Regions from separate parts of the Homo sapiens genome. Here regions 1, 2, 4, 5, 6 and 7 are each linked to region 3. The links are contacts of gene promoters, found by promoter capture Hi-C in human tissues and cell types (Jung and others, 2019). All regions are on one chromosome and are shown on one strand. The core of a region is centred on a gene start or on the middle of the fragment in contact, and the rest is flanking DNA. Distances in the headings are between cores, read along the strand shown. Region 1 overlaps KICS2 (KICSTOR subunit 2). Region 2 overlaps C12orf56 (chromosome 12 open reading frame 56). Region 3 holds the start of SRGAP1 (SLIT-ROBO Rho GTPase activating protein 1). Region 4 overlaps SRGAP1 (SLIT-ROBO Rho GTPase activating protein 1). Region 5 overlaps KICS2 (KICSTOR subunit 2). Region 6 overlaps C12orf56 (chromosome 12 open reading frame 56). Region 7 has its middle 25 kb from the start of KICS2.

Region 1 (4,336 bases), core at 522-3,021, 370 kb after region 3:
CTACTAAAAATACAAAAAAAATTAGCCAGGCATAGTGGCATGTGCCTGTAATCTCAGCTACGCAGGAGGCTGAGGCAGGAAAATCACTTGAACCCAGGAGATTACAGGCACTTAGTGGATGCCCTCCTCCACTAAGAATACTTAAAATGAAATCTAAACTGTATGGCAGAAACTCTAAAAGCAATTACAAAGGAGTTTCCAACACATGTTAAAGAATGGCTTGTTCAAAGGAACAAGCAGATAAATCACTGATTACTTTAAAAGGGACAATATTTATTTGAATAATAATTTGTTAAAAATTCACATTATTTTCAGCCAGGTGCATTGGCTCAGGCCTGTAATCCCAGCACTTTGGGAGGTGAAGACGGGTGGATCACTTGAGGTCAGGAGTTCAAGACCAGCCCGGCCAATATGGTGAGACCCCGTCTCTACTAAAAAAAAAAAAAATACAAAAATTAGCTGGGTGTGGCGTGTACCTATAATCCCAGCTACTCAGGAGGCTGAGGCAGGAGAATTGCTTGAACCCAGGAGGTGGAGGTTGCAGTGAGCTGAGATCATGCTACTGCACTCCAGCCTGGGCAACAGAAAATACAATAATACGTATTTTCATATTATTTTACTATGTTACAATTTGGTTTCCAGAAAAAAGAAATTCCTATTATTTTATATACAATTCTCTTGTTGTGTGAACTCTTTCCTAAGCAGCAAAATCGGTTATAATACAAGTTTTACGATTACTTCATTCTCGGTCTTTTGCTATTGCTTAGCAGCCGTGTGGTGTTAATAAGACCAATGAAGGTGCCTAATGTATACCTGTTGATTAATGAATATGTATAAAATGTAATCCAGTTATTTATTTCACAGTTATTTCATCACAGATTTTCATAAGAGTGTGGAGAAAAACTCTGAGCTTGTGTGGGATTGATAGGACAGCCACGCTTTCTCCCTCCCTCCTCCCCACACTGACCTGGAGCTGTATTTTTTCATGATGGCATCCAAAAGGCCAACGAGCTCTTCAGCATTGATGAACTTCTGTGTGCTGAGGGTGTACATCTTCTCATAGAAGTCTGCTATCTCCATCCGAGCCTGAACAAAGAAGCAGAGCTGCTCTGACAGGTGGGAAAGGAGTTCTTCCACGTGAGGAGCAGTCCCACCCAGGGCACCACGGCCAGTCACCACCTTCTTCAGCTCATTATGCAATGAAGTATAGATGGTGCGGATGGAATCCTTCCTGCTGAAGAAAGACTGGCCCCCTGGTAGGCAAACAACATAAGCACATGACAAGTAAGAAGGAGAAACCGTAAGTACCAAACACCTACCAACATGCAAAAGCAAAGAATCCAAACCCATTGAGCTCAGTAAGTTTTCATCTACCATATTCTCTGTCTATGATTGAGATATAAATACTTTATGATAATCATAAATACTTTATGATTATCATAAATACTTTATGATAATCATAAATACTTTGATTCATAATTTCCCTAAGGAATAAGCTAAATGAATACCTGATAGAATTCATTACTGTAGCAATGGACCTGTGTACAATTTGCTTACCCATGTACCAATTCTCACCCACCCCAATTCAATGAGGATTCAGATTTACTTCAGAGCATAATTAACCTAGCAAATAACACCAACTGGAACTAAAAAGCCTACCTTTCACATAGATGTATTCAAAGCAAAAGAGCACACAAATTATGAAACACTATTTTTATTCCTGCTGTGTCATGATTTTTTGTTTCTGCTTTAGAGTTGTATTTTCCTTTGAATCTAATCTTTTAGATCATACCAGAAAATTGAATACATACACATATATTCCCTCTATGCAAGAAAACAGACTACTGGGATCCCAGGAGAATAAAGAAAATCTTAGCACTCTTGACAAGGTTGACACTATATGTTATAAATAATAAGCACCACATTGTGAATTATTAAGACCAGGAACCAATTATAAATAACTGCTGCTGTAACCAAGGGATTCCAAAGGAAATCAGCAAAAAATAAAACCAAAAACACCTTTATATAGCCAAAAAGGATCAAATAGCATAGATATCATTTACTCACTTCTGTATGTACACATGAGCAATTATATTTCTAATTATGGAGCCAGCTTCATGGATGTTCCCTTAAGCAATTCTGCACCCACCAAAGGGCCAGAGGCAAGATATTAGGAAAATGAAAAGAAAAAAAGAAACAGGGCAGGTTTAAAACAGTGATTTCTAGGAATATATAAAAAAACTCAAGAGATGGACAAGAGTTTAAATTTTCTCTTCAATGAATTTACTATTCTAAACATATACCTGTAATTAGGAATAAAAATGTATCAAGGCATTTGTAAAATATCCTCTTAATAAATGAACCATTTTACAATATTGATTTTAATTCATTGCTCGGTTTATGTTTCAAGAAATGAATCTTCCTTCCCTTACTACTAGGTAACCAACTTGTCCCAGTTTACCCAGGACTTTCCAGGTTTTAGCACTAGAAGTCTAGCTTCTCAGGAAATCTTTATAAGGTTTTAAAACAAAGTCCCACATCCTAGAAATCCCTCAGGCCTGGGAAAATTTTGAACAGTTGGTTACCCTACTTATTTCTGACACCCCAGACAAACTACTGATACTTTGAAAAGTGTTTTTCCAATATACTGTCTAAACCAGGGGTGTTCAATCTTTTGGCTTCCCTGGGCCACATTAGAAGAAGAAGAATTGTCTTGGGGCACATATAAAATATGCTAACACTAACCATAGCTGATGAGGAAAAAAAAAAAAACGCACAAAAAATCTCATATTGTTTAAGAAAGTTTAGCCAGACATGGTGGCTCATGCCTGTAATACCAGCACTTTGGGAGGCTGAGGCGGGAGGATCACCCGAGGTCAGGAGTTCAACACCAGCCTGGCCAACATGGTGAAACCCCGTCTGTACTAAAAATACAAAACAATTAGCCAGGCATGGTGGTGGGTGCCTATAATCCCAGCTACTCGGGAGGCTGAGGTAGGAGAATCGCTTGAACCAGGGAGGCAGAGGCTGCAGCGAGCCGAAATCGTGCCACTGCACTCCAGCCTGGGCAACAGAGCAAGACTCCATCAAAAGAAAAGAAAAGAAGAAAAGAAAAGAAAAGAAAGAAGGAAGGAAGGAAGAAAAGGAAAGGAAAGAAAAGAAAAGAAAGGAAAGGAAACCAAAGGAAAGAAAAGAAAAGAAGAAAGGAAGGAAGGAAGGAAGAAAGAAAGAGAAAGAAAGAAAGTTAGTTTATGAATTTGTGTTGGGCCGCATTCAAAGCCATCCTGGACTGCATGTGGCCCGCAGGCCACAGGTTGGACAAGCTTGTTCCAAACAGATTGAGTAGCTGGCACATCATTTCTCCAACTAATACAATTAAAGTCCATATGGGTACAGGTGGACCAGATGTGACACCAATATCTCATACGGAACTGTTCCCTACAGGGTTTGCCTTCCTCCCATGCCCATATTCAGTTTAGCTCTGCTGATTTTGTACAGTGAAGGGTACAACATAAATAGACCTCTGTGCCCACATCTAGGATAAAACCTCTCGGCTTAGGAGGGTAATAAGAGTATCATATAAAACCTAAAAGCTGTGGAGGTCTGAAAGACTTGGTTTCAAACCCCAGCTCCCACAATTACAGGCTATGTTGATGTGCAAACTACTGAACCACTTTGAGCTTTAGCTGTCATTTTTAACATAAAACTGGTGATAGAGCTAAAAAAAACAAATGAAATAACATTTGGTGTGTAATGTGCCTGGAACAAAGAATATATTCTATAATACTAATTCCTTTCCCTTCTATTTATAACTGATACATTTTTTAAAACTCCTAATAATAATACATAATTGAGCTTCTGAAACTGTGGTGAATTGGGAGCTTCAAATACTACAAAAAGAATAGCTATCTAGTACTATTAAACGGGGTGGCCTTGGTGAAAATTTTAACTTCACATTGAAAAAGGGATATCATCTGTCTCTAGGACTTATGGGAGAAAAAAAAAAAAGGATACCTAACTTCATCAGATTACCCCTATCTGGGGGAACGGAAACACTACATAAATACAAAGAATACCTTTAAAAGCTTATCGGTAAACGCTAATCACCAGCATGTGAAACCAAGTAAAGTGAAACTACTCTAAGGAAGAGATAGACCATCAACACATTTCTTTCAAACAGTTCTCTTTTCTCAAAGCTCTCAGGAACCCAATCCTATCTGTTCACTATCTTGGTTTGGAATATCCAGCGGGGACTGACCTTTCTTCATGCTGGAAAACAAGGAATCAGAAACATCCAACTTCTTTCTCTTTTCAATATTTTTAATTTAAAAAATAT
Region 2 (3,705 bases), core at 1,180-3,679, 450 kb after region 3:
ACTCAGCTACTCAGCTATTTGAGCCCAGGAGGCGGAGATTGCAGTGAGCGGAGATGGTGCCACTGCACTTCAGCGTAGGTGACAGAGTGAGACTCCATCTCAAAAAAAAAAAGAAAACCTATTCTCATAATTTAAATTTTACCTTCAAGAAAATTAAAAAATAAAGACCACTTAAAAGAAAAAAGTATGCCTCAATAAAGTTCATTTTAAAAGGGAGGGAGAAAACTATATATAATATATATTTTTATATCTATAATATATATCACTCTATATTATAGCGTATCTGTAATTTTTATATCCATAATATGTACATTATATATGTGTATAATTTTCCATCCTATTACAGGAACCAAAAATTAGAGATGCCTGTGATGGTTAATTTTAGGTGTAAACTTGGCTAAATTAGGAGTACCTAGAGAACTGGTAAAGCATTATTTCTGTTATGTCTGTGAAGGTATTTCCAGAGGAGACTGGCATGTGAGTTGGAGAACTGAGTGGTTCTGTCTCTCTGGAGAATTCTAATACAGATTTTGGTACCAGAAGTGGAATTGTTGCTATAAGGAATACCTAAAAATGTGGAAGTGACTTTGGAATTGGTTAACGGATAGAGGCTCGAAGAATTTGGAGGAGCAACCTAGAAAAAGCCTAGATTGCAATAATTGGAGGATTAAAGGTGATGCTGGTGGGGGCTCAGAGAAAGAGGACAGCTGTAGGGAAAGTCTGAAACTTCTTAGACATTTCTTAAGTGAAAGAGTGAAAGATTATTCTCCAGCTTTAAGACACTGTTATTTTCCCTGTTGGGTTTTGGACTTACTTGGCCCTTTCCTCTTGCTTATATCTTCCTTTTGGAATGGGAATGTCTATCCTCCACACATCCCATCACTGTATTTTGTAAGTAGATAACCTGTCTTGATTTACAGGCTGACAACTGGAGAGGAATTTGCCTCAGGATGAATCCTGCCTTGAGTGTCACCCATACCTGATTTAGATGACAATTGGTAATTTGGACTTATGAGTTGATGCTGGAATGAATTAAGATTTTTGGAGCTATTGGGATGGAATAAATGTATTTTGTATGTAAAAAAGACATGAATTTTTGGGGCCAAGAGCAGAATGCTGTAGTCTGAATGTGTCCCCCAAAGTTCATGTTTTAGAAACTAATCCCCAATGCAACAGTGTTGAGAGGCGAGACCTTTAAGAGGTTGATTGGGTCATGAGGCTCCTGACCTCATAAATGGATTAATGTCATTATTGTGGGAGTGGGTTTCTGATAAAAAGATGAGTTTGGCCCCCTTCCACCCTTTTTTTTTTTTTTGCATGCTCTTTTGCCCTCTGCCTTCTCATGGGATGACACAACAAGAAGACCCTCACAAGATGCCAGCACCTTGATACTGGACTTCCCTGCCTCCAGAGCTGTCAGAAGTACATTCATATTCTTATAAATTACCAAGTTTGTGATACTCTGTTATAGCAACACAAAACAGACTAAGACAATGGCCCTAATCTCTCCACCCCAGTATGGGTTTCTAAGGGAGCTTCACAGAACGTATGTTTTCCAAGAAATATAGCATAAAGTTGAAAAACCACTGCTTTAGCTTAAGGCTATGATAACAATTTAAATAAAAAAATCTTAAAGGATGTTGACTTTTATTAGTCATATATGCTAATTTTGTGAAAATAAATCTGAGGATAGATTTTGGCTGTGGATTAGACAGAAGAACATAAGGCTACTGGGTTTGATAGCATGGTTGGGGATAGGGCCAAGGGGGACTCCACTGAAGTGTAGAGAGACCACAAATAGAGAGACTACCCATTTACTTTTTTTTCTTTTTTTTATTATACTTTAATTTCTGGGGTACATGTGCAGAATGTGCAGTTTTGTTATACACATGCCATGGTGGTTTGCTGCACCCATCAACCCGTCAGCCACATTAGGTATTTCTTTTAATGCTATCCCTCCCCTATTCCCCCGTCCGCCGACAGGCCCCAATGTGTGATGTTCCCCTCCCTGTGTCCATGTGTTCTCATTGTTCAACTCCCACTTATGAATGAGAACATGCAGAACATGTTTGGTTTTCTGTTCTTGTGTTAGTTTGCTGAGAATGATGGTTTCCAGCTTCATCCATGTCCCTGCAAAGGACATGAACTCATCTTTTTATGGCTGCATAGTATTCCATGGTGTATATGTGCCACATTTTCTTAATCCAGTCTATCACTGATGGACATTTGGGTTGGTTCCAAGTCTTTGCTATTGTGAATAGTGCTGCAATAAACATACATGTGCATGTGTCTTTATAGCAACGTGATTTATAATCCTTTGGGTATATACCCACTAATGGGATTGCTGAGTTAAATGGTATTTCTAGTTCTAGGTCCTTGTGGAATCGCCACACTGCCTTCCACAATGGTTGAACTAATTTACACTCCCACCAACAGTGTAAAAGCATTCCTATTTCTCCACATCCTCTCCAGCATCTGTTGTTTCCTGACTTTTTAATGATCACCATTCTAACTGGCATGAGATGGTATCTCATTGTGGTTTTGATTTGCATTTCTCTAATGACCAGTGATGATGAGCTTTTTTTCATGTTTGTTGGCTGCATAAATGTCTTCTTTTGAGAAGTGTCTGTTCATATCCTTTGCCCACTTTTTGATGGGGTTGTTTTTTGCTTGTAAATTTGTTTACGTCCTTTGTAGATTCTGGATATTAGCCCTTTGTCAGATGGATAGATTGCAAAAATTTTCTCTCGTTCTGTAGGTTGTCTGTTCACTCTGATGATAGTTTCTTTTGCTGTGCAGAAGCTCTTTAGTTTAATTAGATCCCATTTGTCAATTTTGGCTTTTGTTGCCATTGCTTTTGATGTTTTAGATATGAAGTCTTTGCCCATGCCTGTGTCCTGAATGGTATTGCCTAGGTTTTCTTCTAGGACTTTTATGGTTTTAGGTCTTATGTTTAAGTCTTTAATCCACCTTGAGTTAATTTTTGTATAAGGTGTAAGGAAGGGGTCCAGTTTCAGTTTTCTGCATATGGCTAGCCAGTTTTCCCAGCACCATTTATTAAATAGGGAATCCTTTCCCCATTGCTTGTTTGTGTCAGGTTTGTCAAAGATCAGATGGTTGTAGATGTGTGGTGTTATTTCTGAGGGCTCTGTTCTGTTCCATTGGTCTATATGTCTGTTTTGGTACCAGTACCATGCTCTTTTGGTTACTGTAGCCTTGTAGTATAGTTTGAAGTCAGGTAGTGTGATGCCTCCAGCTTTGTTCTTTATGCTTAGGATTGTCTTGGCTATGCGGGCTCTTTTTTGGTTCCATATGAACTTTAAAGCAGTTCTTTCCAATTCTGTGGAGAAAGTCAATAGGTAGCTTGATGGGGATAGCATTGAATCTATAAATTACTTTGGGCAGTTATGGCCATTTTCACGATATTGATTCTTCCTATCCATGAGCATGAAATGTTTTTCCATTTGTTTGTGTCCTCCCTTATTTCCTTGAGCAGTGGTTTGTAGTTCTCCTTGAAGAGGTCCTTCACATTCCTTGTAAGTTGTATTCCTAGGTATTTTATTCTCTTAGTAGCAATTGTGAATGGGAGTTCACTCATGATTTGGCTCTCTGTTTGTCTGTTATTGGTGTATAGGAATGCTTGTGATTTTTGTGCATTGATTTCGTATCCTGAGACTTTGCTGAAGTTGCTTTGATAAGCTTAAG
Region 3 (3,878 bases), core at 1,102-3,601:
TCCTGAGTAGCTGGGATTATAGGCACATGCCACCATGCCCGGCTAAGTTTTATATTTTTAGTAGAGATGGGGTTTCACCATGTTGGCCAGGCTGGTCTCGGACTCTTGACCTTGTGATCTGCCCACCTCGGCCTCCCAAAGTGCTGGGATTACTGGTGTAAACCACCGTGCCCAGCCAGAATCTTTTGAGGCCAGGAGTTTGAGACCAGCCTGGGCCATAGAGCAAGGCTTCATCTCTACAAAAAAGTAAAAATAATAAAAAAAAATTTAAAAGGCTGGCAAGGATGGATTTAAAGTACTTAACACAACACCTGAACCATGCAAAGATGGCAAGGTAAATTCTTCGTTATATTGTTCAAAAAGAGACTAGAGTTTGAGACCAGCCTGGACAACATAGGGAGACCCCCGTCTGTACTAAAATGAAAACAAACAAACAAATAAAATAAAAAGAGACTAGACACGATAGATCTTGTAAAAGGTATCTATTAAAAACGTGGCCGGGCGCCGTGGCTCACACCTGTAATCCTACCACTTTGGGAGGCCGAGGTGAGCGGATCACTTGAGGTCAGGAGTTCAAGACCAGCCTGACCAACATGGCAAAACCCTGTTTCTACTAAAGATACAAAAATTACCCAGGCACGGTGGCGGGCGCCTGTAGTCACACCTACTCTGGAGGCTGAGCCAGGAGAATCACTTGAACCCGGGAGGCGGAGGTTGCAGTGAGCGGAGCTCGTGCCCCTGCACTCCAGCCTGGGCGAGAGTGAGACCCCGTCTCAAAAAAAACCCCCAAAAAACAAAATCAAAAAACAAAAACAAAAACAACCGTAAAAGTACTAAGTGCAATGTAGTGTCCTGTGTTGGATCTTGGAACAGAAAAAATGACACTAGTCGAAAAAATTGGTAAAATTGGAATAAAATCTGGAGTTTAGTAAATAAATAAGCTAACAACGCCGTTAAGTGTGACGTGTTTCCATACCATCGCTTTCCTACCATCCTAGCTTCCCTATCTACTGTAGGAATAGAGGATATGGTGTTCAAGGTGGGTGTTTTTCTCCGCCTCGATTGAAGAGCTTCGCGCTCTTTGGATTAACAGCCAGGTCATTCACAATTCAGTGTTCAGTTTTTCTATTGGGGTCCAGCGTCTCGGAGTAACATCCCTTTGTGTCATGGATACATCCAACTCTGGACTTCCCCATTAGATTCTGGCAAAAGCCCCACCAGAGCCCCCGCCAGAGCCAGAAGGCGGTCCCTCAGGTCAGGAAGGGGTTTTCCTGCCGCCGGAGCCGCGACCTCGGCTAGCGGTGGAGCGGGGCTTCGGCGGAGGGAGGTGCGGGGCCTCGGCGGAGGGAGGTGCCGGGGGCGCCGCCCACGGCCTCCTGGGCTCGGCGCGCGGGGCCGGGCTGCGGTTGGCCACAAGAGGCATCCATCTTCCCGGACCAGCCAGGCGTTTCCTAGCGGAGCAGGGGCGGGAGCTTGGACGGAGAAGGGCACAGGCCGGAGCGCGGTCCGCTCCCGCGAGCCTGGCCCCGCCTGGCGGAGCCCCGAGGAGCCACCGCCCGCAGATCGCTAGCCGGGCGCCCGCGAGGCGCGAGCCGTGTGCGCACCCTCAACTTTGCTGCCGCCGGGGGCGCGGCTCCCGCGTGCGTGTGCGAGTGTGCCTGTCACTAGCGGCCTCCTGGGGGCAGCAGCGGAAAGGGGGACGCAGAGAAAGGCAGCCTCGGCGCACCGCGGCCAGGGAGGCAGAGGCCCCTCGCGGCGCCGGCTCTGGAGACCTAAACTCCGCCGGGGCTGTGCCCAGGGCGCGTCTGAGCGTCGCCGCCTTCACCCTCTCAGCAGCAGCGGGGACTCGCGTCAGGACTGCGATTCCTTTCGCCTGCCGAGCTGTAGCGGCAGTGTCTGCGGGCAGAGGAGCGGCGGCCGTGGCAGCAGCATCCCCAGCCCGGGCGGGACCCTTGAGCGCCGGAGCCGACAGCTGGAGGCAGGAAGGGAGGGTTGTGGCGCCCGAGCTGGGCGCGTTCCCAGCGCCTGCCCTCCGCCGCTGGCCCTGTCCCGGGCGCCCGGTGCGGGTCTCGAACAATGGTGCGGAGCGCCGGCGCGAGCCCCGCGCCCGCCCAGCGGCCGTAGAGGAAGTGGCCGGGCTCCCGGCGAGGTGGGCAGGGAGACGTCCCCCGCCACTCGCTGGCTGGAGTTTGCCTGCGCGTCCGGCCTCTCCCCCGGGGATCCCCTGGGATTACCGACGGAGCTCAATTTCGAGAGTATGGTGCCAGCGCCCGGGCTAATCTAGTCCTCTCTACTCGCTCTTTTTCCCCTCCTCCTCCTACTTCTCCTCTCCCTCCTCCCTTCCCTCGGGTCGGCGCTGCCTCTGGATTGCCTGCGTGTGGGAGTACAACTCTGCCTCTCCAAGGAGAACGGGTTGTGACCACTGAACAAAACTTGCCCATTGAAAGCAAACCCGGAACAGCTGGATAATGTCCACCCCGAGCCGATTCAAGAAGGACAAAGAGATCATAGCCGAGTATGAAAGTCAAGTCAAAGGTAAGGATGGGAGCGGCTGCCTTGCTCCTTTTGTGTGCCTTCTTGTCATTGTGCTCGTGGAGTTGCGTATCTAACTTGGTGTCTGCGTGGGAGGAAGGTGGTGAGGGGACAGCTCGAGCCCTGTCTGAGCCACCTGGGCTTCCTACAAGCCAGTTAGTTCCCAGTTGCAATCCCAGTCCCGTCAAACCCACGGGGAGCTGGAAACTGGGTGACTTCCCCCGCCAGCTGCCAGCCCGCATCTCTAATGGGGAGAGAACTGGCTTTAACTTAACCACCTTCAGCTGGGCAACTTATGTGGGAAGCAGGCAGCAGTGGAGGATCCTGTCCAGCTATTATTATCACCATCATTATTCTTTTTAAATGGTAGGATTGTCACTACGTAATTTTTTTACGGAATGATTTTTGTAAAGTCTGTGAACCCCAAGCGGTCTACAGCCTCATTGAGTGCAGGCTATTTCAGATATTTACACCACTCACCTATTTACACCGCTCACAATTTATTAGGGCGAGACCCCTTTTATTAAATAGCTCCCTAAAAGCCTGGCAGTTAAACGAAGCAGTGACTAGTGGAATCTGACTCTTCCTTTATAATGGGCCAGAATTCATTGCCATCTTTCACACTCACATGGGAATATTGCTTTATCATTTTCTGGAAGCCACTTGCATGTAAAATGAAGGTTTGAATATTTGAGTAGTAGTTTCAGTCCATTTACATTGTCAACTAATGAAGGAAACCTAATTAAGGCTGATTATTTTTACTTTCTATGCCTTGTGATTAAAAATATATATATTTTCTCTCCAATACAAGTATTTTGTTTTGTTACTGAAGTGTTTCGTAAACATATGTGTTACTTGAATTTTTTCCTCCTCTTTCCTGAGGTCTCAGGAGTAGCTTTCCTGATTGAGACAATGGATGGAATGTTGGGACCGCCACTGTTCTTTGACACATTCAATGCAAAGTTCATAAAGATTGCTATGTATACACCTGTGTTTATCTATGCACAGTCTTATGAAAGGGCTACGGAGAGAGGCATTACTGTACTTCCCTTGAGCAAGGGAGGAGCAGCCTGAGTGTTCTTTTGTGTGGTCAAGTTGTAAAAATGCCTGGAGTCCTGTGAGAGGACCTGGTGGAGAAATCCTGTATCATCCAGTGTGAATACAGACCAACTCATTGTGGACACTGCAGACACAATATGCAAGATAACTTAGGTTATCTTTAGGAGGACCCCTATAATGGAGTTATCTATAGGCTGACCCCTATAATGTGTTCAGGAGACACAGATTTTTGTCTGCTTGGAATTGTGATAATTTATACTTACAGGAACTTGTTTCATTGCTATGGA
Region 4 (4,144 bases), core at 993-3,492, 310 kb after region 3:
GTTTTTTTTGAGACGTAGTCCCGCTCCGTCTCCCAGGCTGGAGTGCAGTGGCGCGACCTCGGCTCACCACGACCTCGGCTCACCGCAACCTCTGCCTCCCGGTTTCAAGCGATTCTCCTGCCTCAGCCTCCAGAGCAGCTGGGACTACAAGTGCGCACAACCACACCCAGCTAATTTTTTTGTATTTTTAGTACAGCCGGGGTTTCGCCATGTTGGCCAGGCTGGTCTTGAACTCCTGACCTCAGGTGATCCACCCGCCTCGGTCTCCCAAACTGTTGGCATTACAGGCATGAGCCACCACGCCTGGCTGAGTTAAATATTTTCTATGTGCCAAGCACTGTGCTAACTGCTTTCATATTATCGGATTTAGTCCTGTAAGACCGGAATCATTATTATCCCCATTTTTCAGATTAAAACAAACAAACAAAAGCTGAGGTTTAAAGAAATTATCTCTTGTAAAATCACACAGCTAACAATTGAGCCAGTATCTGGACCTAGATCTATTGCCTACAGAGCCGCACGTTTAACTACTGTTATCTTGCCTCCTTATTGCTCCACACACTTGAAATATAAATTTTTAAAGACATTTTATTCTTTTTTGTCTTCATCAGAATTTATTGAATCCTGATTATTTTTTCCTTAATGTTGATTTTGTAGACTCATTTGCAGGAAGAACAATGTCAGGTGGAGAGAAGGAATTGAATGAATATTTTTAATAAATTTGTAGATGTTAATATGATTTACTTATTTGCAATTTTCATAGCTATATGATATTCTATCCCATTTCCAGTGTTTTTGCTCTTTTAGTAGCAAATACTCTGAATCTCTGCATATGTTACTCATTTTCTATCATCCTATTCCTTGTGATGGATACCCAAGGGTACTCATCTACAGGATGAAAGGGTATGAGCACGTTTCTAGGTGCCCTGACCCCAAGATTAGGGGTTTTGTTAGAGGCAAAGCTAAAAGGAAATGATAAAATAAATGAATATTTATAGAAGTTAAATCTATTAATCTAGCCTTATTACACCGAGTACAACAGGGAATAATAAGCCATCTATCTGAACGTGCACGGTTAGGGCCTCAAGGAAAGTGGGCTCAGCAATGAGTGTTGGTACACATGGAAAATCACATTTGCCATGTTTTCTATGGCTTTGGGCTGCTGCTGCATCACTGCAGTTTAATAGGAGGAGGCTGGTGAAAATGTTACCAACTGCCAGGGGTCAATGGCGAAAGAACACATTTCTCTAGGAAAGATTACCTTCTCTGAAGAAGTGATAGGGGGAATAAGGCATAAAATTATCTGACCTGAGAGACCTTAACAGCTAGGCCTGCACTGCTCATGCTTTGGGACCAGAAAGCGGATGGTTTGATATGGTAGCTGCACTTCTAAAAAAAAAAGGGGGCATTCTTGGCAGGAGAAAGGGTGTTACATGGAAAGATCAGCGATAGTACACACGCCTTCCCATAGAGTGAGGTGGCTTTCCCACCCCTCAACACTCCTTCAGACCCCCACTGTAACAAAGGGATGTGTCTACCTCTAAATTCATCATTTACTGAACAAATAACTCATGAGGGTTACCATATGTCTGACACTGTAGGAAGAGCTGAAGCAGGGCCTAAAACACTATAGTGCAAGTATCTGTTTACACATCTGTATGAGAGTAATTGATGCTAGCTGCTGTAACAAACAACCCCCCAAACTCAGTAACACAATCAAGCTGTATTTCTCCTTCACATCATAGCCTGGTGTGGGTCAGGTAGGTGACTCAGGGTTCTAGGCTCCTTCCATTTTTTTGTCGCTGCCACACTGGAAATGGGATAGAATATCGTATAGCTATGAGAATTGCAAATAAGTAAATTATATTAACATGTACAAATTTATTAAAAATACTCTTTCAATTCCTTCTCTCTGCCTGACATTGTTCTTCCTGGAAATGAGTCTACAAAATCAACATTAAGGAAAAAATGATCAGGATTCAATAAATTCTGGATAGAAAAAAGAATAAAATGTCTTTAAAAATTTATATTTCAAGTGTGTGGGGGCAATAAAGAGGCCAGATAATAGTAGTTAAATGTGGGGCTCTGTAGGCAATAGATCTAGGTCAGATACTGGCTCAATTGTTAGCTGTGTGATTTCACAAGAGATAACTGATGCTAGCTGCTGTAACAAACAACCCCCCAAACTCAGTAACACAATCAAGCTGAATTTCTCCTTCACATCACAACTTGGTGTGGATCGGGCAGGTGACTCAGGGTTCTGGGCTCCTTCCATTTTTTTTGTTGCTGCCACCTTAGTACGTGGCCACCATGAAGAGGAAGAGAAAGCACTTGCAATGATGTGAGGTTTTCTGTCTTGGTATGGAGGAGACATGAATCACTACTGTACATGTCCAAGTCACATGGCAAGGGAGGCCAGGAAATGTCATCTTCCTATAATGCAAGAAAAAGAACCCAGGGCCGGGCACAGTGGCTCACGCCTATAATCCCCACAATTTGGGAGGCTGAGGCAAGAGGATTGCTTGAGCCCAGAGCAATTAAACACTGCCTGGTGCATAGTTAGTGCTCAAGAATTGTGCTATAATCAATGTTACTAAATTATCTAGGATTAGATGTTTCTAAATTAAAACTATTTCCTGCTTTGTATTTGTCCTTTATTCCAAAAACTTAAAAATTTCTCATTTCTGGTTTGTCAGGGATGAAATACTAAAGCAACTTCATGGATTGTGATTTCAAGTATATGAAAAGTTTAAGACCCAATTGCTTTTGAAGGAGATTCATCTAGAAAAACCAGGGATTCAAACCCAACACATCGGGTGCTAAAGTCTACCCTCTTAGTTGACATAGAATTAAATTAAAATCAGTATTGATTGGATTATGCTTTGATAAAAATGTAACTTCATTTAAGTCTAGTAAATAATTAGGATTATGAGGTCAGGAGTTTGAGACCAGCCTGGCCAATATGGTGAAACCCCGTCTCTACTAATGATACGAAAATTAGCCGGGCATGGTGGCGTGCACCTGTAGTCCCAGCTACTCGGGAGGCTGAGGCAGAAGTATCACTTGAACCCGGGAGGTGGACGTTGCAGTGAGCCAAGATCGCACCACTGCACTCCAGCCTGGGTGACAGGGTGAGACTCCATCTTAAGAAGAAAAAAAAAGCAATTACTTTTGCACCAACCTAATAAAAATGAAAAATCCCAATGAAAATGCATGAATATCATGTGCCTTGACAACTTACGGAGCATTTGGAACATGTCAAACAGTAATCAGAGGTCAGGTTGAGGAAAAAATGATAAGAACCCTCTCTGCCCCACCATTCACATCATTCAGTGGATCTATGTACTAAATCTAGCCAGTGGGTTGTGAGCAAAAATGATCTGTGTCACTTGTGGGTTAAAATATAAAAGAGTGCTAGGCACACTGGCTCGCACCTGTAATCCCAGCACTTTGGGAGGCTAAGTGGGAGGATCGCTTGAGCCTAGGAGTTCAAGACCAGCCTGGGCAACATAGCAAGACCCCATCCCTACAAAACAGTTTTTTAAAAAACTAGCTGTAGGGCAGGCACGGTGGTTCACACCTGTAATCCCAGAACTTTAGAAGGCCGAGGTGGGTGGATCACTTGAGGTCAGGAGTTCAGGACCAACCTGACCAACATGGTGAAACCCCATCTCTACTAAAAATACAAAATTAGCCAGGCGTGGTGGCGCATGCCTGTAATCCCAGCTACTCAGGAGGCTGAGGCAGGAGACTTGCTTTAACCCAGGAAGCGGAGGTTGCAGTGAGCCAAGATTGCACCATTGCACTCCAACCTGGGCAACAAAAGTGAAACTCCATCTCAACAAACAAACAAACAAACAAACAGTAGCTGGTTGTGGTGGTGTGTGACTGTGATCCCAGCTACTTGGGAGGCTGAAGTGAAAGGATCGCTTGAGCCTGGGAGGTAGACGCTGCAGTGAGCTGAGATCATACCTCTGCACTTCAGCCTGGGTGACAGAGTGAGATCCTGTCTCAAAAAATAATAACAATAACGTATGAGAGAGGATTCAAGCTTTCCAAGCAGTCTCTTCCCCTGCCATGGCACTCATAGAAGCCTCCCGTTAAGATGGCAGAGCTGTAATGCTAGAAAAGCACAGACTGTTAA
Region 5 (3,798 bases), core at 727-3,226, 350 kb after region 3:
GTTTCACCATGTTGGCCACGCTGATCTCGAACTCCTGACCTCAAGTGATCCACGCGTCTCAGCCTCCCAAAGTACTGGGATTACAGGCGTGTGCCACCGTGCCTGGCCGGTTCTTCTTTCTTCTGCCAGGCAGTCCACCCTAGGTGGGCAGGCTTCCTACATGGACTCTGAGGGGCTCTCTGGTCTCTGCTGATGTTGCTGGCATACCTGCTGTGGACACCCAGTAAAACAGTGGCTCCACACAATCATGGGAAAAAAGACGAATATGACCATTACATTTCACACAAGCTTCAAAGGAACCATCAAACCAGTAACAACTCAATTACTCTTTGTGGCTTCTTTTTATTTTGAATCAATAATCTAGAAGTGAAGGTCTCCACAGCCCATTATGCCTTCACTGATCCACCTACTTCCCATGAACACCTGCCGAAGGAAAGAAATAAGGCAGCATGTGCTAAGATGCAGTGCTGCTTCTAAACATAATTTGTGGGGGGCAGGCATGAAACCCAAGTTCAGAAGTGCTTAAGTACTGAGGTGATTACTCAACTATGAAGAGGTCTTTCAAGCGCACAGTTGATTTTTAGCAAGTACAGCGTATGAAGACCTTCATTTTGATTTTATAAAAGTAGGCTATGTTGCATGAGTATCTAAAAGTGGCTGAAAAACCGACTGCATGCTTTTAAGCCTAAAAATAACCAAGGAGTAGAGCCAAACATGTACATTTCAGCAGAAAAGTGATAAACAGAAAGCGAAGCGGATAATATGCTGAAGAATGAAGAAAGCCCACATGATGGCTTATGCTGACTTTACAACAGAGTGAAACATTCAAACATTAAAGAAGTCAAAACAAATGCAGTTAGGTGTGTACATTACCCCAAAAGAACCCATGGCTATTAAAGCTGCCATGAGGATCTTCTGAACTGTTAAAACCTTACGTCATGCTACCAATCTGACTCACTTTCAGTTTCAATAACTGATAGAAATTTCTTACCAAGACCCTAATTTTGGCATCAAAAATGTTAATTTGTAGATCAGAATCATAAATCTACTAACTCCATATTCATTTGCTAATTTATGAGACAGAAAACATATAGTTCTTAATTCTAAAAAGGCCATTTAATATCTCATCCCTATTACTCTTCCAAGAAGGAGGGAAACAGAGAGGCTGTTTGGAATTGCAGTAGAACACAATGTTTAGAACAACAGAAAAACATATGGGAAAAAAAAAAGCCCAATAAATATTCAATCTACAAGAAATATAGCAAAATAGGGGAAAATACTGAAACTACTTTGCTGTACCATGGAGACACATGGTAGCCCATGACCACTTCCTAGATTACTCTTTGGAAACTTAATTCAATTGGCCTTAATTGCTTATAAAGTGTGCAACACAGGGAGGATTTGTCTTTAATTTAGTTCTGAAAGAGGCATGAATGGATGTAAACTCTATTCACAGACCACCGTAGATCATTAGGGCAATTAAGAACAGTTTCTAGTCTTGAAACCCCTCCACGCAAATCACCTGCTAACCTTTGGCTCCAGGTTTCAGACTTGCAAACACTTTGGGGTTCTTAAGGGCAAGTGAGACCTCATTGAGGAAGGAAATAAAGTGGGAGTCTCTCTCAGATTTCTTTGACTCAAAAATGATGACAATGGTAAAGTGAGGTTCCGGGCGGGTTAGGAAGTAGGTACTCTGAACTTTGTCATCATAGAAGTGGACCACTTTCTCCAAGCTGTTCAGATCAGATGTGCGGTCCGTCATGATCATGATGACATTGGGCCAGTGCATGACTGGCCTGTCGCTGGGCAGAGACACTACAGCTGGATACTGGTCCACACCCTTGGGGGCCTCTCTGTAGGAATGGGGGTGGTGATAACCATGACCCTGAAAACTCTCAGAACCTCTGTTGTCAAAAATTAAGGACACATTGGCAGCATCATATTTTCTGATGAAGCTGGAAATCTTTCCAAAAAAGTCTGGGTTAGCTTTTGCTGTCAACGTTTTCATTTCTGAAGCAGTCGTTTGTCGGCTCAGAGCCTCATGAAAGTAAAAGCTAAACTTGGCAAGAAGCATGTTTTTGAGTTTCATCAGCCAAAGGAAAAGGTGTGGAGGCTGCACGGCCTTCTGAGACTGCCCTCCAAACAGATGTTTCTTGGTCTCCCGCTGTTTCTCAAAGATCTGGCCCCACGTCTGCAGTTTGGTGTGCGCACTGTGTAAATTAACCAGAGATGGGAGGAACTTCCACTCTGAGACCTGGGCCTGGGCTTTCAGGAGATGACACAGGACGTCAACTTCCAGCTGGAAACTGCTTTCCAAAGGACTGAGGATTGGGTGGTGAAATCTAAAGGGGAGAGGGAAATAGAGATAAGTGGAAATGTTACTTCACTTGCCACACTGACATTTTTCTAACCACAAAGCAACAAAATGGCCAAACATAATATTATGCTTCAGGACAGGGGAAGAAAAGATGGAGGAACTACATGTTGATTTATTTTAAAATTCTGATATAATTTCACCATTTCAAAATTATGTCAACATCATATTCTCCTGTGGAAATAGCCTGAGAGTAGTGGCCACTTTTCCTTTCAACAACAGGAATACCAAATTAGCTACAATTCATTTTTTTTTTTTTATTTATTTATTTTAGACTGGTTCTTGCTCTGTCACCCAGGCTGGAGTGCAATTGTACAATCATGGCTCACTGCAGCTCAGTTCCTGGGCTCAAGTGAGCCTCTTGCCTTAGCATCCCAAGCAGCTGAGAACATAGGCACACACTCCATTTTCTGTAGAGACAAGGTCTCCCTATGTTGCCCAGGCTGGTTTCAAACTCTAAGTGATCTTCCCACCTTGGCCTTCCAAAGCGCTGGGATTACAGGTGTGGGCCACCATGCCTGGCCTAAATTAGGTATAATTCTTTCTGAGTGTATTTTATTTATTCTGGCAATTGTATGACTAAAACAATCATTGAAACAAGGCATGCTCTTTTCAGAGTGTGGTCCTAAAGAGGCAGAGGTAAAACAAAAAAAGTCACTAAAACATCTGTTGAATGTGTAGATGACACATATAAACTCATTTAATGTTCACAGTAATGCTATGAGGTATTAAGCCTATCTTGCAGATGACAGTACCTACTATAAGCTTATATGGAAAACACAGTAGATAAAATAAATGTTTATTAAAGAAATAGAGCATTTATCAGACAGCCCTTATTCAATCCTGGTTCCCAAATTCCCTTCATATTAATTATAGTTAAAAACAAAATGGTGTGGGGAGGGAGGAGCCAAGATGGCCGAATAGGAACAGCTCCGGTCTACAGCTCCCAGCATGAGCAACGCAGAAGACGGGTGATTTCTGCATTTCCATCTGAGGTACCGGGTTCATCTCACTAGGGAGTGCCAGACAGTGGGCGCAGGCCAGTGGGTGCACGCACCGTGCGCGAGCCGAAGCAGGGCGAGGCATTGCCTCACCTGGGAAGCGCAAGGGGTCAGGGAGTTCCCTTTCCGAGTCAAAGAAAGGGGTGACGGACGCACCTGGAAAATCGGGTCACTCCCACCCGAATACTGCGCTTTTCTGACTGACTTAAAAAACGGCGCACCACGAGATTATATCCCACACCTGGCTTGGAGGGTCCTATGCCCACGGAATCTCGCTGATTGCTAGCACAGCAGTCTGAGATCAAACTGCAAGGCGGCAGCGAGGCTGGGGGAGGGGCGCCCGCCATTGCCCAGGCTTGATTAGGTAAACAAAGCAGCGGGCAGCTCCAACTGGGTGGAGCCCACCACAGCTCAAGGAGGCCT
Region 6 (4,235 bases), core at 166-2,665, 470 kb after region 3:
CCAGGTACCATGGCTTGTACCTGTAGTCTCAGCTACTTCGGAGGCTGAGGCAGGTGGATCAAAAGAGTCCAGGAGTTGGAGGCTGCAGTGAGCTATGATTGTGCCACTACACTCCAGCCTGGGCAACAGAGCAAGACCTTGTGTCTAAAATTTTTAAAAGTATCTATCGTCTGTTTGGTTTAGGTCCTTCCAGGCATATAAAGACATATGAATTATAAACACATAAATTTATAGTATTTATATATTTTTATAATATATATTTAATCCTAAATTATATCGCATATATTAATCTGGAACTTGATTTAACTTAATATATGGTGGATGGTTTTTCATGTCTGTGTATATAGATTTACCGATTTACAGCCCGGCCCAGTGGCTCACACCTGTAATTCCAGCATTTTGGGAGGCCAAGGTGGGCGGATCACGAGGTCAGGAGTTCGAGACAAGCCTGGTCAACATGGTGAAACCCCATCTCTACTAATAATACAAAAATTAGCCAGGCATGGTGGCACATGCCTGTAATCCCAGCTACTCGGGAGGCTGAGGCAGGAGAATCGCTTGAACCTGGGAGGCAGAGGTTGCCGTGAGCCAAGATCACACCATTGCACTCCAGCCTGGGCAACAAGAGCAAAACTCTGTCTCAAAAAAAAAAAAAAAAAAAAAAAGATTTACCGATTTACTTCAATTTTTTTTTTTTCTTATGAGACAGGGTCTCACTCTGTCACCCAGGTTGGAGTACAGTGGCATGATCATACCTCACTGCAGCCTCAAACTCCTGAGCTCAAGCAGTCCTCCTGCCTCAGCCTCCTGAATAGCTAGGACTACAGACATGTTCTACCTTGCCAGGCCAATTTTTTACTTTTTATTTTTTAGTAGAGATGGCGTCTTGCTATGTTGACCAGGCTGGTCTTGAACTCCTGGCCTCAAGCGATCCTCCCCTCTGAACCTCCCAAAGTGCTAGGATTACAGGCATAAGCCACTGCATCCAACCAATATCAATTCTTTTAATGATTATTTAGTATTCCATAGCATAGATACACAACACTTTTGTTAACTATTTCCTTATTAATGGAGTTATTTTTCCTTAAACCTTTAGTGTTGCCATTTCTCATTTATTCTGGGTCCTCAAAATAGTCATACAGTGTTCAGCAATTTCTCTAAATAATCTTTTATTTATGTTGAGGCTTAAGACAGGTCAGAAGGAATTTCTCAAATGTTGTTGATTTGACACTGCAGACAAGCTTTTTTTTTTTTTGAGACGGAGTCTCGCTCTGTCAGTCTGGAGTGCAGTAGCGCCATCTCGGCTCACGGCAACATCCGCCTCCCAGGTTCAAGCGATTCTCCTGCCTCAGTCTCCCGAGTAGCTGGGACTATAGGCGCCCGCCACCACGCCCGGCTAATTTTTTCTATTTTTTAGTAGAGACGGGGTTTCACCGTGTTAGCCAGGAAGATCTCGATCTCCTGACCTCCTGATCCGCCCGCCTCGGCCTCCCAAAGTGCTGGGATTACAGGAGTGAGCCACCGCATCCGGCCAGCTTTTTTTTTTTTTTTTTTTTTTTTTTTTTTTGAGACGGAGTTTAGCTCTTGTTGCCCAGGCTGGAGTGCAGTGGCACGATCTTGGCTAACTGCAACCTCCGCCTCCCAGGTTCAAGCAATTCTCCTGCCTCAGCTTCCTGAGTAACTGGGATTCCAGGCGCCCACCACCACGGCCAGCCAATTTTTGTATTTTTAGTAGAGACGGGGTTTCACCATGTTGTCCAGGCTGGTCTCAAACTCCTGACCTCAGGTGATCCAACTGCCTCAGCCACCCAACCTGTCTTGTGCTTAATATCAGAGTGGTGTAGTGGGTGGATGGTGGCAAGGGAGATATGTGCTTTTTCTTACTACTTTTGTCATTGTTCTACGTTTTTTTTTTTTTTTTTAAAGCAGCCTTTCTTCCCTCTCCAAATATTTACATTTTCCTTAAATCCAGAATTTTAATTTGGGGTATCCCATATTTAGCTTTGTAGCAGCTATCTTCACAATGTATACAAGGCAAGGAATTACCACATTTCATCTTTACAGAATTTAAGGCGCTAAACAACCTACGTGTAACTATTTTTGGTGAAAGTTACATATAAAATGGATTACTGAAGGAGGCTCAACTCTTTGGAAACTCTTAAAATCAGGATGAGTGCTGATAATTTCTAATTAGATGGTTTGGGTTAATTTTATCTAAAAGTACAGAGAAAGTTAAAATGTGTAATGTGGCCGGGCACAGTGGCTCACCCCTGTAATCCTAGCACTTTGGGAGGCCGAGGCAGGCAGATCACCTGAAGTCAGGAGTTCAAGACCAGCCTGGCCAACATGGCGAAACCCTGTCTCTACTAAAATACAAAAATTAGAAGAGGATGGTGGCGCATGCTTGTAATCCCAGCTACTGGAGAGGCTGAGGCAGGAGAATCAATTGAACCCGGGAGGCAGAGGTTGCAGTGAGCCAAGATCGCACCATTGCAAGCCAGCCTGGGCAACAAGAGTGAAACTCCACCTCAAAAAAAAAAAAAAAAAAGTGTTTATATTGAACTAGTAGCTTATTGTTAGTAGAATGAATTCTAACCCGATTTCTCACTTACGTGTGAAATATTTGGTTATTCATTTTCCATCTTTCAAGGAAGAGATAGAACATTATTGTAATTTTTAAAACTTATTTATTTTTTTAATTTTATTTTATATATTTTTTTTCAGACAGAGTCTCACTGTATTACACAGGCTGGAGTGCAAGTGGCACAATCTTGGCTCACTGCAACCTCCGCCTCCCAGGCTTAAGTAATCCTCATCTCAGCCTCCCGAGTACATGCAGGCCATGTTCCTGGCTAATTTTTTTGTATTTTTTGTAGAGATGGGATTTCACCCATCTCTGTTGTCCAGGCTGGTCTCTAATTCCTGAGCTCAGGTGATCCACCCACTTCAGCCTCCGAAAGTGCTGGGATTATGGGCATGAGGCACCACGCCTGGCCTTACTTTTTATTTTAGAGATGGAGTCTTGCTTATTGCCCAGGATGGAGTGCAGTAGTGTGCAGCAGAGCTTCTAACTCCTGGGCTCAAACGATCCTGCTGTCTCAGCCTCTGGAGTAACTAGTACTATAGGTGCTACTACACCACACCTGGCTAAGAGAACGTTATTTTCAATGATAGTGTCTACCAACTCATAAAGATAGTCTTCCTCCACCCACATTTATTTCAATGGTCATAGAAAAAAAAATCAGACTACCTAGATTCAAATCCCAGCTCTACACTAGCTATGTGACTTTGCACATATCATTTAATTTCTCTGTGCCTCAATTTCCTCATCTATAAAATGGGAATAACAGTCCTACCTCATAGGGTTGTTGTAAAAATTAAATAAGTTAATATCCATGAAGCATCAGGCTCCGTTCTATTGTTATTTTCTAGTAGGAAATTAACAATAGATATTAGTTATTGTTATTGCATAGACTATTTATAGCTTAGCAGGTAATGAGTCCGCCAATCTGAATGCTCCAACCATGCATCTGCTGCATAATTTAAAAGTATTGCTAAAACCTGAAGCTGGGCAATTCAGGGAAGCATAAACAGTTATTTTGAAGTATTCACATAGATTTTTTAAAGTCAGGTAAGTTTTGGCTTTTCTATTAGAATATATGAGATCTTTTTTTAATACACCAGAGCTTTCCTCTATTTGTAATTTGTTTACATTTTTAATTTAAAGAAAGCCATTTAAAAATTTAGAAAGGAATTTTAAATGTTTGAAGTCTTCCAAACAGTGGTATGAGAAAAAAATTAAGGGTTGTCCTGTAATTTTTCATAATTTTTAGCCGTTTATAAAACCCTGGCTTCCTAGTTTCTTCTATCTGAAATAGCCCTTTATAATTATTATTATTATGTTGAAAGATCAATAATAAAAATTATGTACTACTGAAGATAAAGGGATTGTATTACTCTTTTAATAATTACTTATTTTTTAAATGAATTCTAACAAAAAGGTCCCTAAATGGGAGTTCTGACTCTGTCCCTAAAGTTATATAATCTTGAGTAAATCACTTAAAAATTTTGTGTTTCGGCCAGGCGTGGTGGCTCACGCCTGTAATCCCAGCCTTTGGGAGGCCGAGGTGGGCGGATCACCTGAGGTCGGGAGTTCGAGACCAGCCTGCCCAACATGGCAAAACCCCGTCTCTACCAAAAATACAAAAATTAGCCGGGCGTGGTGGTGGGCAACT
Region 7 (4,097 bases), core at 12-2,511, 400 kb after region 3:
AAATCTGAGACGGTTAGGAATTGAAGCTGACTAGCCACTATAGACTGAATGTTTACGTCTCCCCAAAAATCATATGTTGAAACCTGACCCCCAATGTGCTTGTATTTGGAGGTGTGGCCTTCAAGAGGTGATTCATGTGGGCACAGCCCTCAAAAGTGGGATTAGTGCCCTTATATGAGACTCCAGAGAGCTCCCTGGCCACTTCCACTATATGAAGACACAGTGAGAGGACAGCCATCTATGAACCAGGAAGCAGGCCCTCACCAGACACCAAATCTGCCAGTGCCTCGATCTTGAACTTCCCTTGCAGCTCCTCAAAACTGTGAGAAATATTTGTTTTGGATAAGCCACCCAGTCTGTGGCATTTTGTGATAGCAGCTTGAGTGGACTAAGACACTAACCAAATGGTCTAGAAGAAGAGAGATGGATAAAATGATTGCTTGTCTGGGAAGTGTGGCTGAGACCAAGTGAAGGTCCTTGCAACCAAGTAGCTATGCAAGAACCCAGTACTAGAAACCACAATGAGTCTGAATGTACCTGAGTTCCTGGGCTGAATTTGTGGCTGTAATTACAAACCAGCAGGTGGTGAGGAGTTCATTATTGCTTATGTCAAACATCTATAAGATAGATCCTTTCACCAGCAAGACCTGAGAACAAAGGACTTTCTGATTACAGTCAACTTCCAGCTCTCCTTAAGTGAGTCTTCCAAGCTCAAATAGCTGAATCCACTAACAGGCCTCTGAAAGGAATCAGTTCATCTGTCATCCTGCGTGAATATATCCACAACAGAAGTTGCCAACCTACCTACCACCTGCAGGACAATTTTGGCTCACAGCCCGCTGTTGTTTATTTTTCAGCAGCTTGATTTGAGATATAATTCACATACTATACAATTCACCCTTTTAAAGTGTGCAGTTCAGTGGTTTTTAGTATATTCACTGAGTTGTGCAACCATCACTACAATTTTATAACGTTTTAATCAACTCCCTCCCCAAAAAAACCCACAACCATCCAGCCCTAGGTAACTGCTAATCTACTTTCTGTCCTTATAGATTTGCCTATTCTGGCATTTCTTATAAATGGAGTCATACACTATGTGGTTTTTTGTGACTGGCTTCTTTCACTTAGCATAATGTTTTCAAGACTCATCCATGTTCTAGCACATGAATGCTTCATTCTTTTTTGTTTTGTTTTGTATTGTGGTTTTTTTATTTCAGTAGGTTTTTGGGGAACAGGTCGTATTTGGTTATACAGGGATAAGTTCTTCAGTGGTGATTTCAGAGATTTTAGTGCACTCATCACTCAAGCAGTGTACATCGTACCCAATATGCAGTCTTTCATTCCTCACCCCACCTCCCATGCTTCTCCCAGAGTCTCCATAGTTCATTGTATTATTATTATTATTATTATTATTGAGACAGAATTTCACTCTTGTTGCCCAGTCTGGAGTGCAGTGGTGCGATCTCGGCTCACTGCAACCTCTGCCTCCCGGGTTCAAGCGATTCTTCTGCCTCAGCCTCCTGAGTAGCTGGGATTATAGGCACCCGCCACTATGCCCGGCTAATTTTTGTATTTTTAGTAGAGACGGGGTTTTGCCATGTTGGCCAGGCTGGTCTTGAACTCCTGACCTCAGGTGATTCACCTGCCTCAGCCTCACAAAGTACAGGGATTACAGTCTTGAACCACTGCACCCAGCCCATTGTATCATTCTTATGCCTTTGCATCCCCATAGTTTAGCTCCCACTTATAAGCAAGAACATATGATATTTGGTTTTCCATTCCTGAGTTACTTCACTTAGAATAATGGCCTCCAACTCCATCCAGGTTGCAAATGCCATTCTTTCATTTATTTTTATGGCTGAGTAGTATTCCATTTTATATATATATATATATCACATTTTATCCACTCATTGATTGATGGACATTTGGTCTGGTCCCATATTTTTGCAGTTATGAATTGTGCTGCTATAAACATGTGTGTGCAAGTGTCTTTCATATAATGACTTCTTTTCCTCTGGCTAGATACCCAGTAGTGGGACTGCTGGATCAAATGGTAGTTCTACTTTTAGTTCTTTAGGGAATCTCCACTGTTTTTCACAGTAGTTGTACTCGTTTACATTCCCATCAACAGTGTAAAAGTGTTTCCCTTTCACCACATCCACACCAACATCTATTATTTTTTTATTTTTAAATTATGGCCATTCTTGCAGGAGTAAGGTGGTATCACATGTGGCTTTGATTTGCATTTCCCTGATAATTAGTGACGCTGAGCATTTTTTCATATGATTGTTGGCCATTTGAATATCTTCTTTTGAGAATTGTCTATTCATGCCCTTAGCCCATTTTCATGGGATTGGTTTTTTTCTTGCTGACTGGTTTGAGTTCCTTGTATATTCTGGATATCAGTCTTTGGTTGGATAGTTTGCAAAGATTTTTCCCCTCTCTGTGGGTTTTCTGTTTACTCTGCTGCTTCTTTCGCTGTGCAGAAGCTTTCTGGTTTAATTAAGTTCCATTTTATTTATCTTTGTTTTTGTTCCATTCGCTTTTGGGTTCTTGGTCATGAAGTCTTGCCTATGCCAATGTCTAGAAGGGTTTTTCCAATGTTATCTTCAAGAATTTTTATGGTTTAGGTCTTAGATTTAAGTCTTTGATCCATCTTGAGTTGATTTTGTATAAGGTGAGAGATGAGGATCCAGTTTCATTCTCCTATGTGTGGCTTGCCAATTATCCCAGCACCATTTATTGACTAGGGTGTTTTTCCCCACTTTATGTTTTTGTTTTCTTTGTTGAAATCAGTTGGCTGTAAGTGTTTGGCTTTATTTCCGGGTTCTCTATGCTGTTTCATTGGTCTCTGTACCTATCTTTATGCCAGTATCATGCTGTTTCGGTGACTATAGCTTGATAGTATAGTTTGGAGTTGGGTAATGTGATGCCTCCAGATTTGTTCTTTTTGCTTAGTCTTGTTTTGGCTATGTGGGCTTTTTTTGGGGGGTTCATATGAATTTTAGGATTTTTTTCTAGTTCTGTGAAGAATGATATTTTGATGGGAATTGTGTTGAATTTATAGATTGCTTTTGGCAGTATGGTCATTTTCATAATATTGATTCAACCCATCCATGAGCATGGGATGTGTTTCTATTTGTGTCATCTATGATTTCTTTCAGCACTGTTTTGTAGTTTTCCTTGTAGAGGTCTTTCACCTCCTTGGTTAGGTATATTCCTCAGTATTTTATTTTATTTATTTTTATTTTTTTGCAGCTATTGTAAAAGGGGTTGCATTCTTCATTCTTAGCTCGGTCACTGTTGGTGTATAGCAGGGCTACTGATTTGTGTTCATTGATTTTGTATCCTGGAACTTTACTGAATTCATTTATCAGATCTAGGAGCTTTTTGGAGGAGTCTTTGGGGTTTTCTAGGTATATGATTATAACATTGGCAAACAGCGACAGTTTGACTCCCACTTTATTGATTTGGATGCCCTTTATTTCTTTCTCTTGTCTAATTGCTCTCGCTAGGATGCTTCATTCCTTTTTATTGCCAAATAATATTCCATTATATGGCTAGGCCACATTTTGTTTATTCACCCATCAGTTGGTGGACATGTGGGTTGTTTCCACTTTTTGGCTATTATGAATAATGTGGTATGAACATCCTACACAAGTTTTTGTGTTGGCTGTTTTCATTTCTCTTGATACATATCTAGAAGTGGAATTGCCTGAGCATATGGTAACTATGTTTAACTGAGGAGCTACCAAACTTTTCCAAGGCAACTGTGGCAGTTTTACATTCCCAGGAGTAATGTATGAAGGTTCTCATTCTCCATATTCTTGCTAACACTTATCCATCTTTTTTATATAGCCATCGTAGGGAGCGAGAAGTTGTGTCTCACTGTGGTTTGTTTTGCATTTCCATAGTCCTCAGCCTGTTTTTATATAGCTTGAAAACTAAGAATGCTTTTTACATGTTTTAATTGTTGAAAAAAATGAAAGCAAAATATTTTATGACACATGAAAATTATCTGAAATCTAACAGTGTCTATAAAGTTTTATTGGAATACAGCCATGCCCATTCATTGTATATTTTCTATGCCTGCTTTT

What was found. Contacts are between HindIII fragments. The study calls those that stand out against the background at their distance.
Region 1: a contact is called between a fragment that was not itself captured here and the fragment with the promoter of SRGAP1 in region 3, in 2 of the 25 tissues and cell types used here (adrenal gland and dorsolateral prefrontal cortex).
Region 2: a fragment that was not itself captured here is called in contact with the fragment with the promoter of SRGAP1 in region 3 in 1 of the 25 tissues and cell types used here (aorta).
Region 4: a contact is called between a fragment that was not itself captured here and the fragment with the promoter of SRGAP1 in region 3, in 1 of the 25 tissues and cell types used here (lymphoblastoid cells).
Region 5: a fragment that was not itself captured here is called in contact with the fragment with the promoter of SRGAP1 in region 3 in 6 of the 25 tissues and cell types used here (H1 embryonic stem cells, aorta, heart left ventricle and 3 more).
Region 6: a contact is called between a fragment that was not itself captured here and the fragment with the promoter of SRGAP1 in region 3, in 1 of the 25 tissues and cell types used here (aorta).
Region 7: a contact is called between a fragment that was not itself captured here and the fragment with the promoter of SRGAP1 in region 3, in 12 of the 25 tissues and cell types used here (H1 embryonic stem cells, aorta, dorsolateral prefrontal cortex and 9 more).

What each region holds. Positions count from the first base shown.
Region 1 is chr12:64,214,711-64,219,046 of GRCh38, forward strand. KICS2 (KICSTOR subunit 2) reads right to left here. Exons shown (of 3, transcript NM_152440.5): 2 at 968-1,253. Among named protein-coding and RNA genes, the nearest start is that of KICS2, 5.4 kb to the right of the region's middle. RefSeq lists a silencer at 493-690. The HindIII fragment of the contact is 3,866 bases long and covers 1-3,704 here.
Region 2 is chr12:64,295,570-64,299,274 of GRCh38, forward strand. The region is part of intron 6 of C12orf56 (chromosome 12 open reading frame 56); the gene reads right to left. Among named protein-coding and RNA genes, the nearest start is that of KICS2, 75 kb to the left of the region's middle. The HindIII fragment of the contact is 3,151 bases long and covers 855-3,705 here.
Region 3 is chr12:63,842,349-63,846,226 of GRCh38, forward strand. SRGAP1 (SLIT-ROBO Rho GTPase activating protein 1) reads left to right here and starts at 2,352. Exons shown (of 22, transcript NM_020762.4): 1 at 2,352-2,535. The coding sequence starts at 2,469. RefSeq lists silencers at 1,285-1,704, 1,765-1,824, 1,935-2,194 and enhancers at 1,357-1,858, 1,859-2,358. The HindIII fragment of the contact is 18,473 bases long and covers 1-3,878 here.
Region 4 is chr12:64,155,626-64,159,769 of GRCh38, forward strand. SRGAP1 (SLIT-ROBO Rho GTPase activating protein 1) reads left to right here. Exons shown (of 22, transcript NM_020762.4): 22 at 1-4,144. Among named protein-coding and RNA genes, the nearest start is that of KICS2, 65 kb to the right of the region's middle. The HindIII fragment of the contact is 6,714 bases long and covers 1-4,144 here.
Region 5 is chr12:64,192,317-64,196,114 of GRCh38, forward strand. It overlaps KICS2 (KICSTOR subunit 2), which reads right to left. Exons shown (of 3, transcript NM_152440.5): 3 at 1-2,342. The coding sequence ends at 1,526. Among named protein-coding and RNA genes, the nearest start is that of KICS2, 28 kb to the right of the region's middle. RefSeq lists enhancers at 1,814-2,233, 3,513-3,798. The HindIII fragment of the contact is 4,221 bases long and covers 1-3,798 here.
Region 6 is chr12:64,313,402-64,317,636 of GRCh38, forward strand. The region is part of intron 4 of C12orf56 (chromosome 12 open reading frame 56); the gene reads right to left. Among named protein-coding and RNA genes, the nearest start is that of C12orf56, 75 kb to the right of the region's middle. The HindIII fragment of the contact is 8,294 bases long and covers 1-4,235 here.
Region 7 is chr12:64,245,335-64,249,431 of GRCh38, forward strand. No RefSeq gene overlaps it. Among named protein-coding and RNA genes, the nearest start is that of KICS2, 25 kb to the left of the region's middle. The HindIII fragment of the contact is 5,361 bases long and covers 1-3,942 here.